Linked DNA regions of Homo sapiens: region 2 is linked to region 1. Evidence: promoter capture Hi-C in 16 types of primary human blood cells and fetal thymus (Javierre and others, 2016). All regions are on one chromosome and are shown on one strand. The core of a region is centred on a gene start or on the middle of the fragment in contact, and the rest is flanking DNA. Distances in the headings are between cores, read along the strand shown.

Region 1 (7,737 bases), core at 1,853-4,352:
ATCTAACTTAGATCTATCTACCTGGATGTATATCATGTATCAAACTCAGCATATCACACACTGAAACTCATACTTTTCACTTGTGTCCTTCCCTACTTCTTTCTCTAATGACAGTAGCTTTTTATAGTTCAATAATCCAGTCTCTTGCCTAGCCTGACCTTGACCTGTGAAAAAAACAGCTAGCTCCTGCATGAAAAATAAAATACAGAGCATAAAACCTTTTACAGATTGAAAATAATGGGCCCACGTTGGATAAATTATTTTTTTGCTAACTACAATAGCAGTGTTTTAAACACTCAGCTAAAAAGTGTGCCATGTGGCAAATAATAAATAAAACAATATTTATTTTAACAAATATTTACTATATGCTAGGCACTGTTCTAAGAGTTTTGTAAGTATTAATTCACTTAACACACATAATATTTTTATGAGGTAGTTAGTGTAACTATATTTTTCAAATGAGGATAATGATTCACAGAGAGTTCAGAAACTAGTATAAGGTCACAGAACCAGGATTTGAGCCAGGTAGTTTGCTTCCAGAACCCAGGCGCTCAGCTACTGCACTGTGCTACTTCTCCATGTGTGGTGTAGAAACATGGGGAAAATATTTGTCATGGCAAAATTTTATTTGTTACTTTTGGCATTATTTACAAGTATAAAATATTATTCATACATTATAATACCAGTCATGTAGAGTAGCTGGGTAGAGAAGTTATTATCATTGCAGAAACTACATATTGCAGAAATAATGTCTTTATAGAAGAGGGACTTCGCTTTTTCTATTCATATGTAAGAGACATACAAGTGCTACTAGTGCACACTATTAACTTTACTCAAAAGGCTAACTACAGGATATCTTCTAAGAGGAATTTTGTCTACTGTATTTCTCTGGCGCACATGGACTCAATACCTCATTGCTTTTCACTTGTGATGATGTCTTTTTTTTATTGCTCTACATCATCTATCCATTGAGGATGTTGCTTGATATGTGTCCTCTGCAAGTATATAGCAAGATTCTCAAAGCCAAGAGAAGTATCTTGTAATTTTTTTTTTTTTTTTTAGATGGAGTCTCGCTTTGTCACCAGGCTGGAGTGCAGTGGTGCGATCTCGGCTCACTCACTGCAACCTCCAACTCCCTGGTTCAAGCGATTCTCCTGCCTCAGCCTCCCAAGTACCTGGGATTACAGGCATGCACCACCACACCCAGCTGATTTTTGTATTTTTAGTAGAGACGGGGTTTCATCATGTTGGCCAGGATGGCCTCGATCTCTTGACCTCGTGTTCTGCCTGCCTCGGCCTCCCAAAGTGCTGGGATTACAGGCGTGAGCCACCGCATCTGGTCCGAGAAGTATCTTGTATTTATATATTGCAATGAGACTTCTCTCTCACGTCTTCACACTAAAGCATCATATCCCTCCAGTTCTGAATTTCTCTTGAGCTTCACAATGTTCTTCTGAGCACTGAAGCAATATAATTTAACTATAATTTATAAAGCTGAATAAAGCGGTACATATATAATGCCCAGCAGCAGGTACCTCAAGCTTTACATATCTCAAAACTCAAAGTATTTTTTTCCGTCAAATCTGTGCCTCCTCAATATTTTCACCTTCAGTAGCAGAAGTTTTTCACCCATGACTTTTCTTTCCCATTCACCAAATTTTAAAATTCCTCCATCACAAATGCCTCTTCTGCCACCTCTTTTTAATTTCCACTAGTCCTGACCATGTGCAGGTCATAATTATCTGCCTCTTAGACCACTGCAGTAGTCTTCTAATAGATTGCTCTGAATCCAATTTCTAATTAGTAGAATCCATCCTTTGTATTCCTCCCCATGATACATTTCCAAATATTGCTATGATGTACTTATTCAATCAAAAAAATTTGGACAGAATATAGTCCAAATTCTTTACCATGGCATTCAAGGCTCTCCAAAAACTGGCCTTGGATTCCTAGCTGGCTAGCTCATTGAGGTTAGGAGTATGTTTCTTAAAATATCTGGATAGAGCAGCAAGTTCTGTGTGTCTCTGTAGATGTGTGTATATTTATGTACACACATTTGTTTTATTGATGGAATCATTAACATTACTCTCATGCATCATGATTGCTTAGCTGGAAATGTTGTCAAATAAAAAACAGGGCCAGACAGTAGTTGAAGTGGCAAAAACACTGTAGTCAGGAACTACTGCAATAAGAGAAAAGAGACCTCAATACAGAGCTGGGCTCAATTCCAATTACAGCATGGACAAGTGGGGATTTAAAGCCAAGGGGGCGTCAGGTCAAGTGGATGGAAACTTACTGATAGGGAACATCACGGGTGGGAGGGTTCTGATTAAGCAGGCCTAATAGGATTCTTGCTGAAGCCAGGCCAGGGTGGTCAGATACCAATGATAGAAAATGAAGAATTTGATCAGGTATCGACGGTAATCAGGTATGAAGGGTTGGGGGTTCTCTCTCAACAGCCGTAGCGAGACCTTTGCTACAACTCGGTGATCCAGGGTCCACAGGATTGGAAGCCAAGGTCAAGGCCTAGTCGGAAAGAAGGCTTAGATGAGCCTGACCAAAGTTCAGCCAAGGAGAGTTTTTGCCAGTGTATTCACACTCCGTGTGTGTGTGGTGTGTCTGTCTCAGTACTACTGTAATTGATGAGGCAGGGGCTCCCTGGCCATCCCAGCAGTGTCACCATCTTTTGGGTAGAACAGCAGACACAGAGATGGCCCACTGTGGACAGTTAACTAACTGGCTCTGTTTAGCATGGGAAAGGAAGGAGAGTCCTGATTTTCTTTCAATATTCCTCAGGTATATTGATCTGACCCCCAAGTTACATAAGATCTGCAGTGATAAAACCATTACCCAAAAAACTCACTGTCTTTTACCACTTATATCCTCAGCATTATCATCAATTGTCTTAATACAAGGTTGGTGGCAAAAAACGGCTCACAAGTATGCATACAAAGGGGCCAAACACATTGAGCAGCAAAACCCCCAAAGCAGACACCGCCCGAGACCCGCTGGAGCGCTTCCGCAAATCTCGCGAGATAGCAGGCAGCGATGCCTTTTGCTCCGGTTTCTCGTGAGACCCCGGGGCTTCAGCTTCTCGTTTGCGGAGCCCGCGGCGGCGTTTCCTGGGGCAACAGCAATGGCGGCCTCGCTGTCCGAGCGGCTCTTCTCGCTGGAGCTGCTGGTGGACTGGGTGCGTTTGGAAGCCCGGCTGCTGCCGTCCCCCGCTGCCGCAGTGGAGCAGGAGGAGGAAGAGGAGGAAAAGGAGCAGGGGGAGGCCTCGTCGCCGCGCGGTCTGTGCCCCGCCGTGGCCTTCCGCCTGCTGGACTTCCCCACGCTGTTGGTTTACCCTCCTGACGGCCCCGGCGCTCCCGCCGCCGAACCGTGGCCCGGTGTCATCCGCTTCGGTCGCGGCAAGTCCTGCCTCTTCCGCCTGCAGCCTGCTACCCTGCACTGCCGGCTCCTGCGGACCCCGCTTGCCACCTTGCTGCTGCAGCTGCCCCCTGGGCGCCCGACGCCCACCCCACAGCTCCTGGGGGCCTGCGACATTTCGCTGGCCACCGCAGCGCACAGGGTCGTGGGGCCGGCCGCCTCCGGATGCTCCCACCGTCACCGGGGACGTTTCCCCCTGCATAATCGAGTGGGCGAGCGGACTGGGGACATTGCACTGGCCTACCGCCTGACTGACCTGGGAAGCCGCCTGCTGAGCCAACTTGAGCGGCCCCTCACCTTCACCCGCACAGGAGGAGGAGCGGAGGTCAGTCCCCAAACCCAGCAGGAAAGACAGCAGCTGCAGCAGCCAGCCTCACAGCCAAGCCCAAAAGAGGCTGATAAGCCGCTGGGGGAGTTAGAAATCCCAGAGGCACAGAAGGATTTGAAGGAAATGGTTAAAAGTAAGGCCGAATGTGATAATGTGGGTTCTGTGGAGAATGGCAAAACCAATTCTGTTGTTACATGTTCAGGTGCTGGCAATGGGAGAAATGTTAGCTCCCTAAATGAGGAAGTCACAGAATTGGACATGGAGACCAATATATTTTGCCCTCCTCCTTTGTATTACACTAACTTGACCCAAGAAAAACCGCCCCCTGCACAGGCTAAAATCACCATTGAGCCTCAAATGAATGCACCTGAGGAAATGGATGATGCTTCTCCTGAAAAAAAGCGTGTAAATCCCCCAGCACACAGGAGTTGTCTAAAGCATCCAAGTTCTGCAGCACACGAACATCCTCCAATGCTTGTAAATCCTCCACATATTCAGAATATAGGAGCAACTAATCAAACATGTCAAACTGAACAAAATCGAATTAATACAATAAGGCAGTTGCCTTTGTTAAATGCTTTGTTAGTTGAGTTGTCCTTGTTATATGACCAACCTGTGACAAGTCCTGCTCATATACATCCTCACCTAGCCTGGTTATATAGGACTGAGGATAAGAAGTCACCCGAATCTTCTGCCAAATCCACATGCCGGTCTGAAGCCAAGAAGGATAAGCGTTCTGTGGGGGGATGTGAAAAGTCAGTGAGTCTTCAGTATAAAAAGAACCAAATTGAAAACTATAAGGAAGATAAATATTCTGAAAAGAGCAGTGGTGCCCTCCATAAAAGAGTTCCAAAAGGGAGGCTACTTTATGGCTTAACAAATACACTAAGACTACGTTTAAAGCTGACAAATCCTGATATGTTGGTGGTACATGAAAAAAGAGAACTATATAGAAAAAGACAATCACAAATGTTGGGTACAAAATTCAGAATTCCGTCATCCAAAGTTAAACTATTAAGCTCTGCAGAACAAAGTCAGAAGCCACAACTGCCTGAAGATAAGTATTTAGATTCAGATGCATCTTTCACTGAAAATAGTGATACCTCAAGACAAATCAGTGGAGTTTTTGATGAGCCCAGCACAAGTAAAGAAACTAAACTGAAATATGCAACTGAAAAAAAGACAGTTGATTGTAGTAAAAATAGAATCAATAATGTTTCATTGGAAGAAGTTGTGAGTCCTGCAAATTCCATTATTCCAGAAAGGCTTACCCCTACAAATATTCTGGGAGGAAATGTGGAAATGAAAATCCAAAGTCCATGTGTTTTCCAACAGGATGCTGTTGTTGACAGAATTGTAGATAAGGAAATAGATATTAGACAGGTCAAAACCACAGATAATGACATTCTTATGGCTGATATAAGTGACAAGAGAACAGGTAAAAATAGTTGCTATGAAAACATCTCAGAACTGAAGTATTCAGATGATTTGTCTAGCCCTTGCTATTCTGAAGATTTCTGTACCAGTGAGGACACCAGCAGAAGTTTCAAAGCTCATGATAGCAGTTCAAGGACAGAAAATCCAAAACATAGTCAATATACAAGCAAGTCTAGTGACACAGGAGTGTCCAAAAAGAAAAATAGTAGTGACAGGAGTTCTATCCTTAGCCCACCTTTTTCAGCCGGGTCACCTGTACACTCATACAGAAAATTTCATATTTCAAAGACTCAGGATAAAAGTTTGGAGGAAGCATCTAGTATCTCTGCTAGTGATTTATCTTCAACACATTGGACTGAACAAAAAGAAAACCAGATAGATCAAAATAGTATGCACAATTCTGAAATTACAAAGAGAGCTCAAGACATCTCTGTTAAAACAAGAAGTAGTTGGAAATCTTTAGAAAAAAGCCAGTCACCACAAACATCCCAGGTGAGTTCTTACCTGCCTTCAAATGTGTCCGAACTTAATGTCCTGGATAGCAGTACATCAGATCACTTTGAAGAAGGCAATGATGATGTTGGTTCACTAAATATTTCCAAGCAATGCAAAGATATTTGTGAATTAGTAATAAATAAACTTCCAGGATACACAATGTAAAAATACATGCTTTTAAAAAACTTTCAAGGACCTATGTGTACTGTTAGTGAAAAAAATTTTAAAGCTGTTTTAGTTCATGAATTATGTGAATAATTTTTTAAAGAAATATGAATTAACGTTATTCCTTTGATGTTTAAATGGTATTTTACCATTAAATCTGATAATATTGATTATTAAATCATATAAACAGATTTCTTTTTAAATTGTTTAATCATAAGAATAAAAGTGTGTCTTTCTAAATTGTCTCTCTTAAAGTGTCTAGTCTACAGTATTGATCATTCTAAAGCTGACTTCATGCACACCACTGAAAAAGAAGGCTAGTTAGTAAGGACAGCCTCAAATTTTAATTGGAACAAATTATTTAACAAATATAGAAGACTTACTGTGTTAGATGCAGAAAGGTGCAGAATCTATTTATGATAGAGCCCTGCTGTTTTAAAAGCTTACAGTTGTATGTAGATAAGAAGTCTTCCTTGACATATACATATCCCATATCCCCAATAGGTGAAGTTGCTTTTATATGCTCTCATAGTGCCCTGCACCTTTTGTTTATAAGCCACAATTTGTGTGATTACTTGATTAAAGTTTATCTTCCACTAGGCTTCAGTTGTGTGATGGGATCATATTTGTTTTACACATCAGTGCATTTTTGTATCTAGCACAATTCCTGGCATGTGGCTGCAGTGCAATAAAAACATTTGTTGAAAAAAACGAAGCCCAGGCATTTAAAATACCTAATGGGAGGGTTTAGAATTAAGCAGCAAAAATAAGCAGATTCCCTAAAATAAACCTGCAGAAAATCCTTATTGGAAATATATTTGACTGTAATATTTCTGTTTTGCTTGGTATAAATAGCCTTCAGGTGTTCTCTGAAATATTTGGAAAGGGAAACTTAAGAAGGTATCTTTTATACAGTTTCTGATATAGGAGTTCAGTTTCTTGTCATTTCAGTTTGTTCAATGGTTATTTTTAGTGTATGGAACTTTGTTTTTATGAAATCCAGTGATAATTTATAATTTATTCCATTGGTTTTATATTTAGACTTTATTCTGTGTTCAAATATTTACATATATTTTCTTCTAGCTGTGTTATACTTTAATTTTTAGACTTTTTAATATATCTAACGTTTTTGAATGTATGAAGTGAGGTTCTAATTTCCTTTCTTTAAAGGTAATTAATTATATAGGTATTCTGAATGATCATAATACTAGAATATAGATAGATGGTAAAAAGAGAGAAGAGGATGTTACATTTTGGGGAGCAATATGAATAAAAGAGTGATGGGAATGAGCCTGATATATTTATGGGACAATTTAAAATATTATCTTGAATAGAATGATCCACTCATGCTACAGAGTGGTAGAAAGGACATTTGTTGAGTAAGGAAAATGCCAGATTACAGAGAGCCTCAAATGCTAAGTATAATAATAGAATTCTAAGCAATAGGAATAACAGATTATTTTAGGTTATAAATGAGCACTAGTAAGTAGTCATGACATTTTGAATATTTTAAATTATTGAAAATAATAAGCAGAGAAATTATATCAGTTAAAGTTTTGAGATATGAAAGGTTTCTGTGGCTAGTGGCTATGATCTTAATTTTTCTAAAATATAAAGCATATAGTATAACATTTCACAAAATCAAAATATTGTAATGCCAGGTATTGTAACTAGATGTTTAATGATGTGAACTGTGTAAATTGTTTAATAGCAATTTGTCATTACTATGGAAGAGACAATAAAAATATAAGCAATATCAGAATCATCAAAGAAATAATTCCTTATAAACCAACGTTTTATTTGGTAGAGAGTAAGTCATTGTCTGTGGTAAGAATAGGTAAAATGATTAATTTAGCAAGTCTAAGGTACAACAAGACCAAAAA
Region 2 (7,737 bases), core at 2,099-4,598, 120 kb after region 1:
CGTTTCAGTCTATGGAAGCTGGCGGTCTTAAGCAAAGCCACACTTACTTCCTAAGCTGTTCAACAAATCAAAACCCTGTTCAGAAAGGCAGGAGGAGCCAGGTGCTGGGTGGGGAAGTCTTCCTTCACTGCCTGGCTGGACTCAGAAGCCCTCCAGTGCACTGCAGCAGAGAAGACTTTGATCTCAAAGTAATTTTCACCTTGATCTCATCTATAGGCCCTGAAGACTCTTCCTGGGTGTCTGTCAATGCAAGGAGTGGGCCTTGGCATTTGTTGTAACGAACTGAAAAATGACCACAAATCACCATCTTCCGTGTTGATGGGGACTATTTGTTTAACGGCATTGCTTAGGCCATTAAAAGACCCCTCGGGAATCAGGAAGGGGTGAAGATTTGAAACATTTTCATCCTTGGTTCAAGACAATAGAATTTGAAGATGCCTTTACCCCACTGATGTGGATATCAAGAGTATCCAGGGTGAGAGGTCACAGAGTCATCCGCCTGACTGCGTCTGCATGAGCAAAGATAGACAGGATGAGACTGAAAATTCTTCGCTTCATTCATTTCTGTATTTCTGGGCCATGCCCTCTAACAATTGCAAAGATGAACTGCAGCGAATTGGAATGACCTAACATTTCTGTGACATCTGATTCTGTTGTACCTGAACATCCCAGAGACCACACCGCTCAAGGGAAATGTATATTTGAAAAATATCTTGTGAATGTCTCTAAGCCAGAAAATAAAAATGGACTTTTCAGAGCTAGCAGAGATCCACTTTCGAGCCTGATGCAGCCTCTCTGGTGATTTATAATGCATTGACAGTATTCCCCAGATAATTCTTAGAGCCCTCCATTACCACCCAATGAATAGAGGCCATCTCACTGGGGTGTCAGCGAGGTTGAAATTTGCTAAGAATTTACTAGCCCAGAGAAATGCATGAGAGAGAAGTGCCAGATGATACATCTGGAAGAGACCACTGCTGATTCTACAGATGCAAAATCCCATGCAGTCAGGGTAGTGACTTACCTGGGACCACACAGCTAACCATGGCAATGGAGGACTAGCGTTCAGGTCTCTGAACACCCAGCTTTGTGTTTAAAGACTGCACTGACCACTAGGAATAACAGGTCTGGTTAATGCACCATTGGCCATTCTGACAATGCTTTACTAACTGCCTGAGATAGACCAAGACTTCCTTCAGCAGTCAGGAAGTCAGAAGAGCAAGGAAGCAATTTGGCTCTACAGGGTGGAGACAAAATGCCTTTTCAATAGGTTGCTAAGTTCTCCATTTAACAAGAGCCAAAGAAAAAGTTCATACCAAAAACACCTTATAAACAAAATTCATCCTTTATACAGACATCTGCTCTTCTTCAGGGGGGCTGCGGGCCATTAGGGCCATGTGCTTGTCACGACGCTTGCAGCAGATGTTTGCTAATACTTTAAGATCTCCCTGTGATGTGGTTATTGTTTAATTCTCCTGTAAGGAGAGTTTTGCTCAAATTAAACAGGAAGGCTTAAATGCGAACTAGGGTGCAATGTCCTGCTGTGCATTTGTTACAGTGGCACATCAAAGCTCTAAGAAAGGGGCTTGGGGTTTTCTTCAAGTTCACCAGAGGCCCCAAAGCACTATGCCATGGTGAGTGAGAGAAGCTGTGTCTCATTTTCGTATGCATTTATGTTCAACTACATTGCAGGGTTGTTCTGTTAGCCCTATTGTGCCTTTTGTTTAAAAGGCCAGACTGCTTTGAAGTGAGCTGGCAGAGCATGATGACAGAGGGCCACTCAGGCAGGGCCCATGGCCAGAGCCTGGAAAGGCAGTAGGAAAAGCTGTATTCTTCATGCCTGACCAGGTCTCTGCACTTCACATGAGCAAATGGAATCACTTTAAGAAAGGACTATTAGAAAGCCAAATGTGAGATGAAAAATGACTGTCCATTGTGACCCATGTGTGCTGAGACTGAGAGAGGAATCAATGGTGAGATCAATAAATATTTTATCAAGCACCTCCCTTGGTCAAGAAGCAAAAGACTGGGCAATGTTTGCTCTCCTGGGGGGATTACAATTTTAAATCCACTCTCTTACCACCTAGGAGCTAGACAGAACATAAACATGTTAGAAATTAAAGCGTGAAGGTTGAAAAAATATTTCAAGAAGAGAACAGAAGAGGGAGAGTGATTCACTAAATGAACAGTCTGTATTTGCCATGGGTCCAGGGAGAAAGAGTCTGGTCTGGCCGGGTAAAGCTTTCCTGGAGAGGAGAAGCTTCTCTAGTGGGAAGCAGTTGGTTTGGACTTTACTGGATGGTATTAGTTTCTGTGTCACATCCATGTTTATGAAAAAGTAAAGCCTTATTACTCTTCGTAAGGAGTTAAGAGCCACCTGACTGCCACAGACATTAATTCCTTTGTGATGGGATCCAGTGCAAATGAAAGCACATGATTAATGATGGGATGGTCTTATTCTTAGGTGGCAGCAAGGCTCACAATTTTTCACATTCACATACGTGACTGCATGGATTTTCTAACTAATAATTTGCCACCCACAGCAACACCTAGACAATGGATCTCCACTCACTCTCCCTTGTCACTCAGAAAAAAATCCACATGATTCTCAGGTTTAAATCCCATCAAGGTTATGATTCAGGTTCTCTTGGCTCCAGGCCTGATCCTCCTCTTTCCCTTCCAAATAATTATCCAGGTTCACAAAAATGGACATTTGTGGAGCTCTTGCCTTTTTCTGTCTTGGAAGAACCAGCAAGAATCTACCCTTTCCCAAACTTCCATTCACTCATTTATTATTTTTTTTTATTGAGCACTAGCTATGTGTCAAGCACTGTACTAGGCACAGTAGATTCCATAATAAAAACATTGGAACATAGTGAAGTGAAGGGATAGAGGTAAGCAAAGAGGTTATGATGATACTGTCTGTGATGTGCAGTGATAAAGGGAGGACACAGCAGGGGGCTCTGGTTCCTGACTTGGGGTGTAAAGAAGGTATCCGTATTAGTCTGTTTTCATGCTGCTGATAAAGACATACCAGAGACAGGGCAATTTACAAAAGAAAGTGGTTTAATTGGACTTAACAGTTCCACGTGGCTAGGGAAGCCTCACAATCGTGGTGGAAGGCAAGGAGGAGCAAGTCACGCCTTACATGGATGGCAGCAGGCAGAGAGAGAGAGCGTGTGCAGGGGAACTCCTCTTTTTAAAACCATCGGATCTCATGAGACTTATTTACTCTCATGAGAACAGCAGGGGAAAGACTTGCCCTCATGATTCAATTACCTCCCACTAGGTCCCTCCCTCAACACATGGGAATTCAAGATGAGATTTGGGTGGGGACACAGCCAAACCATATCAGTATCCCAGGAGGTGATGTCAAAGCTGAACCTGAGTGAGCAGAGCAGGAGGTGGTCAGGCAAAGTTGGACGGAGCAGAGGGCATTCCGACTACCCAGGCTTGCATAGGAAACACCTGGAGGCATGGTGGTCCTGTTGTAAAAGCCCAAATGCTGTTTCAGAGGATGGAGCCAAAAATGAGGCCATGGAGAAGAGCAGGGGTCAGTTGCTGAAGGCCGTATAAGAATGTCAAGAGTTTTGGCTCTCATGAGGGGACCAGGGCACTAACAGAGAGTTAGAAGTGCCGCATTGCAACAAGCTCAGAGTGACTTGCCATTTAACACTCACTGGGCACATTAATCTCTCTCAGCATTTTAAAGAAATGACTGCATCCCAGTGAAGTGTTAGCTGACTCACAGAGGAGCAAAGGTTTTCTCATTTTACAGGTGAGGAAACTTGAGATACATGGAGGTGCCAAGGCTCATGGAGTTCGTACAGGAACCAAGAGTAGAAGGTGAACAATCAGCAAAGTTTGTGACAGGAGAGGGGAAATGTGATAAGGGCAAAATTAATGTACCGTCCAAGCTGAACTAAGCTAATGCACAGCATAAATTCTTTGAATGATTTTTTTAAACCAAACTCTTTGCTTGAAACTTAATCAGGAATTTACTGCGGGACATTGAAGGTCAAGGTTTTAGAGTGCCACTACAAATAGCTCTTATCCTGAGTCCTAGTAATACAGCCAGACTAGGCAGTGTGTCAAAACCAAGAGCTCCCTTTGCTATGTAGAAATGCAGAAGGGAGAGCCCAGCATCACTTGAAACCAGAGGCAGATAGACAGTGGTCTTTCCCCTTGAGTGTACAAAGAGGTAATAACAGGATCCACCTCCTCACATGAGGACATGTGAGTTAATACATGTTGTAGTGTATTGAGCAGAACCTGGCATATGATAAGTGCTTGATTTGTTAGCTGTTCTTTCCTGTGTGTTCCCTTAAAGATACAGGTATACAGTTTGAGAAACATGGTGGTACAGGAGTCTTCTAAAAGCACACAGCTTTTCTGTCATCTAGCAGTGCTATAATTGTGTAGTTAGGCAAATGGAATCAAGCTTGACAAGGAAGACGCTGTACCAAGTGTCCCTCAATACCCAGCACTTCTTCATCCCAACAGCATTCACCATGCACCTCCCAAACATTCACTGGTGTTAATGTGGAAGTGCAGAGCATTGGCTTCTGGTGTGGATCATCAGAAACAGGTGGCCAAATAAAAATGGACAGAATCTGTCCCATGTGAAGAGGGAGTAAGCTGAAAGTGTGGTGTCCGGAAATTATTGTAAATTTTATTGCATTTGTAATTTCATGTTATATGTGATTTAATTAAACATATAATATCTAATAAAAGTCCCTGGGAATCCAGATATCTGAGTTACACGTAAAAAGAAGGAAGAAAATATATTTTTTTACTTAAAAAGCCACCCTTTTCAGTGACTTATGTCAGATTATTATTATTATTATTATTATTATTGAGACAGAATGTCGCTCTGTTGCCCAGGCTGGAGTGCAGTGGTGCAATCTTGATTCACTGTAACCTCCGCCTCCCAGGTTCAAGCGATTCTTGTGCCTCAGCTTCCTGAGTAGCTGAGATTACAGGTGCACTCCACGTGCCTGGCTAATTTTTGTATTTTTAGTAGAGACAGGGTTTCACCATGTTGGCCAGGCTGGTCTCGAACCCCTGACCTCAAGTGATCCACCCACCTTAGCCTCCCAAAGTGCTGAGACTACAGGTGTCAGCTTCTGCGCCTGACCAACTTATGTCAGTTTAACAGGTCCATGCTGTCTGCCCTTCATTTTCTGACTAATCCTTTGTAGCAATCTCTGAACCATCAATTCAATGAGGCATTAAGAAATAAGAGACTTCACCATTTTGTAGAAGCCTTTGGCATTTAGATGGGCTCTCCAGGGTGTAACTCACACAAAAACAACACAGATTAATATGAAACATGTTATAAATGGAAACAAACAAACATACACACAAATGTATATACCAGATGACATTCCAGAATAGGCAAAATGAAACTATTTTGGTAAAAATCAGAAGAGGGGCTGTTTGGGGTGTGTGTGGACGAGGGATTGTCTAAGAAGGGGTACAAGGAAACATTCCTGGGTGATAAAAATGCTGTATTGATATGCATTTGTCAAAACGAATTGAGGGGTAGGTATCCTTTATTTTAAAAAGTGGCTATCTCAGTAGGGTTGCTATGTGGATCAGCTGAGATAATGCCTGTAATGCGTTAAGCATACAGCCTGATGCATAATAAACGCATTTTCCCAAGCAATATTAGAAGCATCTGGTTCCAAAATAGAAACCATAATAAGCTAAAGAGAAACAGGTATTGTAAAAGTTATCTATCTGTTTAAAACTTCTCCTGAAATCCCAAAGAGTAGAGTTATTATGAAAGCAACTGGGCGGAGAAAAAAGAGCTTCAAAGGAAATGAATTAAGGGGAGCAGGAAGAAGGAAAATAGCCTCTCTCAAAGAGATAGGAAGAAAGGGAAGATTAATTTTCTTTCTAACTTAAAATTGTCTTTTGTTTGTATAATTAAACTACTGCTTATTTGTAAAACCTAGTAGATAGGCAAAATGTGCATGTTCTAAGTTTGCAATTTAACAAAACATGTTTTAAATAAAGCAAGAAAAGCATTAATTATAAGTTGTTGTTTTTAATTGCAGGAGGAGACCATGAGGTAATTTAGTAAAGTGTTTCAGTCTTCTAAAAAGGGCTCAAGGCTTAAATTCATGAGTAGATTAAAAGTAATTTATAACCATATAAACCTACACAGATGCCTAGATACTCTTGAACCCAGAGACCACTGGAACAATTCAAACCTTCTGGCACAGAGGAGAACTAAGTTAGCCTTTATAATGTGGAAAGGAAACTTGAGAATGTTTGCCTCACCCAAAAAGAAGTGAGATTAGAGCAAAAGTGCAAATTTCTGCCATATTCCTTGGTGTAAAAGTGGTTTTGAAATGTAATTTGAAATAAACTCATGGAGCTCTTTATTTCTAAACCCTGTGCAACGTCTGCCTATGTCCCTTCTTCCTACTTTTGTTTTCTTTAGTTTTTGCAGGAAGATTTACACAAATGGGCTCCCCAAGGTATACCCAAGACTAGTCCTGGCTCTGAACCAACTATGGGTTGGTATTAATTTATTGTCTTGCCAACTAGTCCTGGGACAAAGGGTGTCATCATAGGCACATAAGGTGTTCCCTAACCCATCCAGGCATGGATTGCATGCAAAGGCGGAGCCTCTGCAAAGCAGAGTGACAGTAGCAGGCAGCAGGCAGACCAGCCACACACAGCCGCCATCAATTGTAAATGAGATGGTGCTCCTTGTGTCAAATATCTGATGGGTACACTGCTGAGCTGTAAACTTGACTTGTTCTACAAGTGGGAACTCTGTGACAAAGATGAGTCATTCCACTTACACAAAATATAATGGTTTGTAGACCCTGCGTCTGTCTTTCCTGGCCTGTCCTGGTAGTGGACTTGCTAAAATGACTATTTGTTGGCCCTTGATGGTTAGACACAGAGGAGGTGGTGGTGAAATGTTCTTTAGGCGAGAATGGCAGTTGGAACTGTTGTGATGGAACTGGATTCCCTGAATTCACTGAGGATGATGGGATCCTGGTGGATCAGTGAATCAAGCTGAAGCTCTGAATCTCAGACGAGGACAGGTGGTGATGGGGAGCAGAGCCCAAGCAGCCACCAGAGTAGTCTAACCTGTAGTGTCTTTGGTGTTGATCGTGGTGTCCTTGAAACTGAAGTAGTTGAGCAGCTTACTGAAATCTTCACCTGTATAGGCAAGAAAGCTTTACATCTGGGGAATAGAAGTCTAAATTGGGTCACCATGATAGACTGTTGCAACCTCTTGTCTAACTGTCAGACTCGAGTCAATTCAGGGCCTGGACTAGAGTGAGGCAAGAAGGCATCTGGGGTGCAAAACTTCAGAAGGCGCCCACTCCCAGGGTCATGCAGGTGCCCACAGGCAGGTGCCAACAGTAATCATCTCCTTAAGTTGTGTGCAAGAGTCCCTCTCTTACCTTACCCTAGTCCCAGGCCGAACAGAGCCCCTTGAATGAAAGAGAGGTCAAGCCTTCTGGAGGAAGTCCTGCTTTATGGCAGAAATTTACACTAAATCTCCCTCCTAGCCTCCTTCAAAAGAACCTAGGGCCATTTACAAGAGTGACTATGTGTTGAGGAAGGGTAAATAATCAAACTTTTCAGGGAATACTGAACACGGGCTCTAAATGGAAATTAATTTCTGGAGCAAAAACATTACTCGTAAGAAGAGGGGCTTGTGAAGGTCAGGTGATCAATTACAATTCTATGTAAGTCCATTTCATC

Evidence for each region. The method cuts DNA at HindIII sites, captures the fragments that hold promoters and counts their contacts. A CHiCAGO score of 5 or more calls a contact.
Region 2: a contact is called between a fragment that was not itself captured here and the fragment with the promoter of MAP10 in region 1, in 2 of 17 cell types (fetal thymus and non-activated CD4 T cells). The highest score is 8.1, in fetal thymus.

What each region holds. Positions count from the first base shown.
Region 1 is chr1:232,802,314-232,810,050 of GRCh38, forward strand. MAP10 (microtubule associated protein 10) reads left to right here and starts at 3,103. Exons shown (of 1, transcript NM_019090.3): 1 at 3,103-7,616. The coding sequence starts at 3,137. The coding sequence ends at 5,854. RefSeq lists enhancers at 2,898-3,495, 3,207-3,286, 3,496-4,092. The HindIII fragment of the contact is 4,755 bases long and covers 1,540-6,294 here.
Region 2 is chr1:232,924,220-232,931,956 of GRCh38, forward strand. No RefSeq gene overlaps it. Among named protein-coding and RNA genes, the nearest start is that of NTPCR, 23 kb to the right of the region's middle. RefSeq lists enhancers at 1-554, 121-180. The HindIII fragment of the contact is 2,181 bases long and covers 2,259-4,439 here.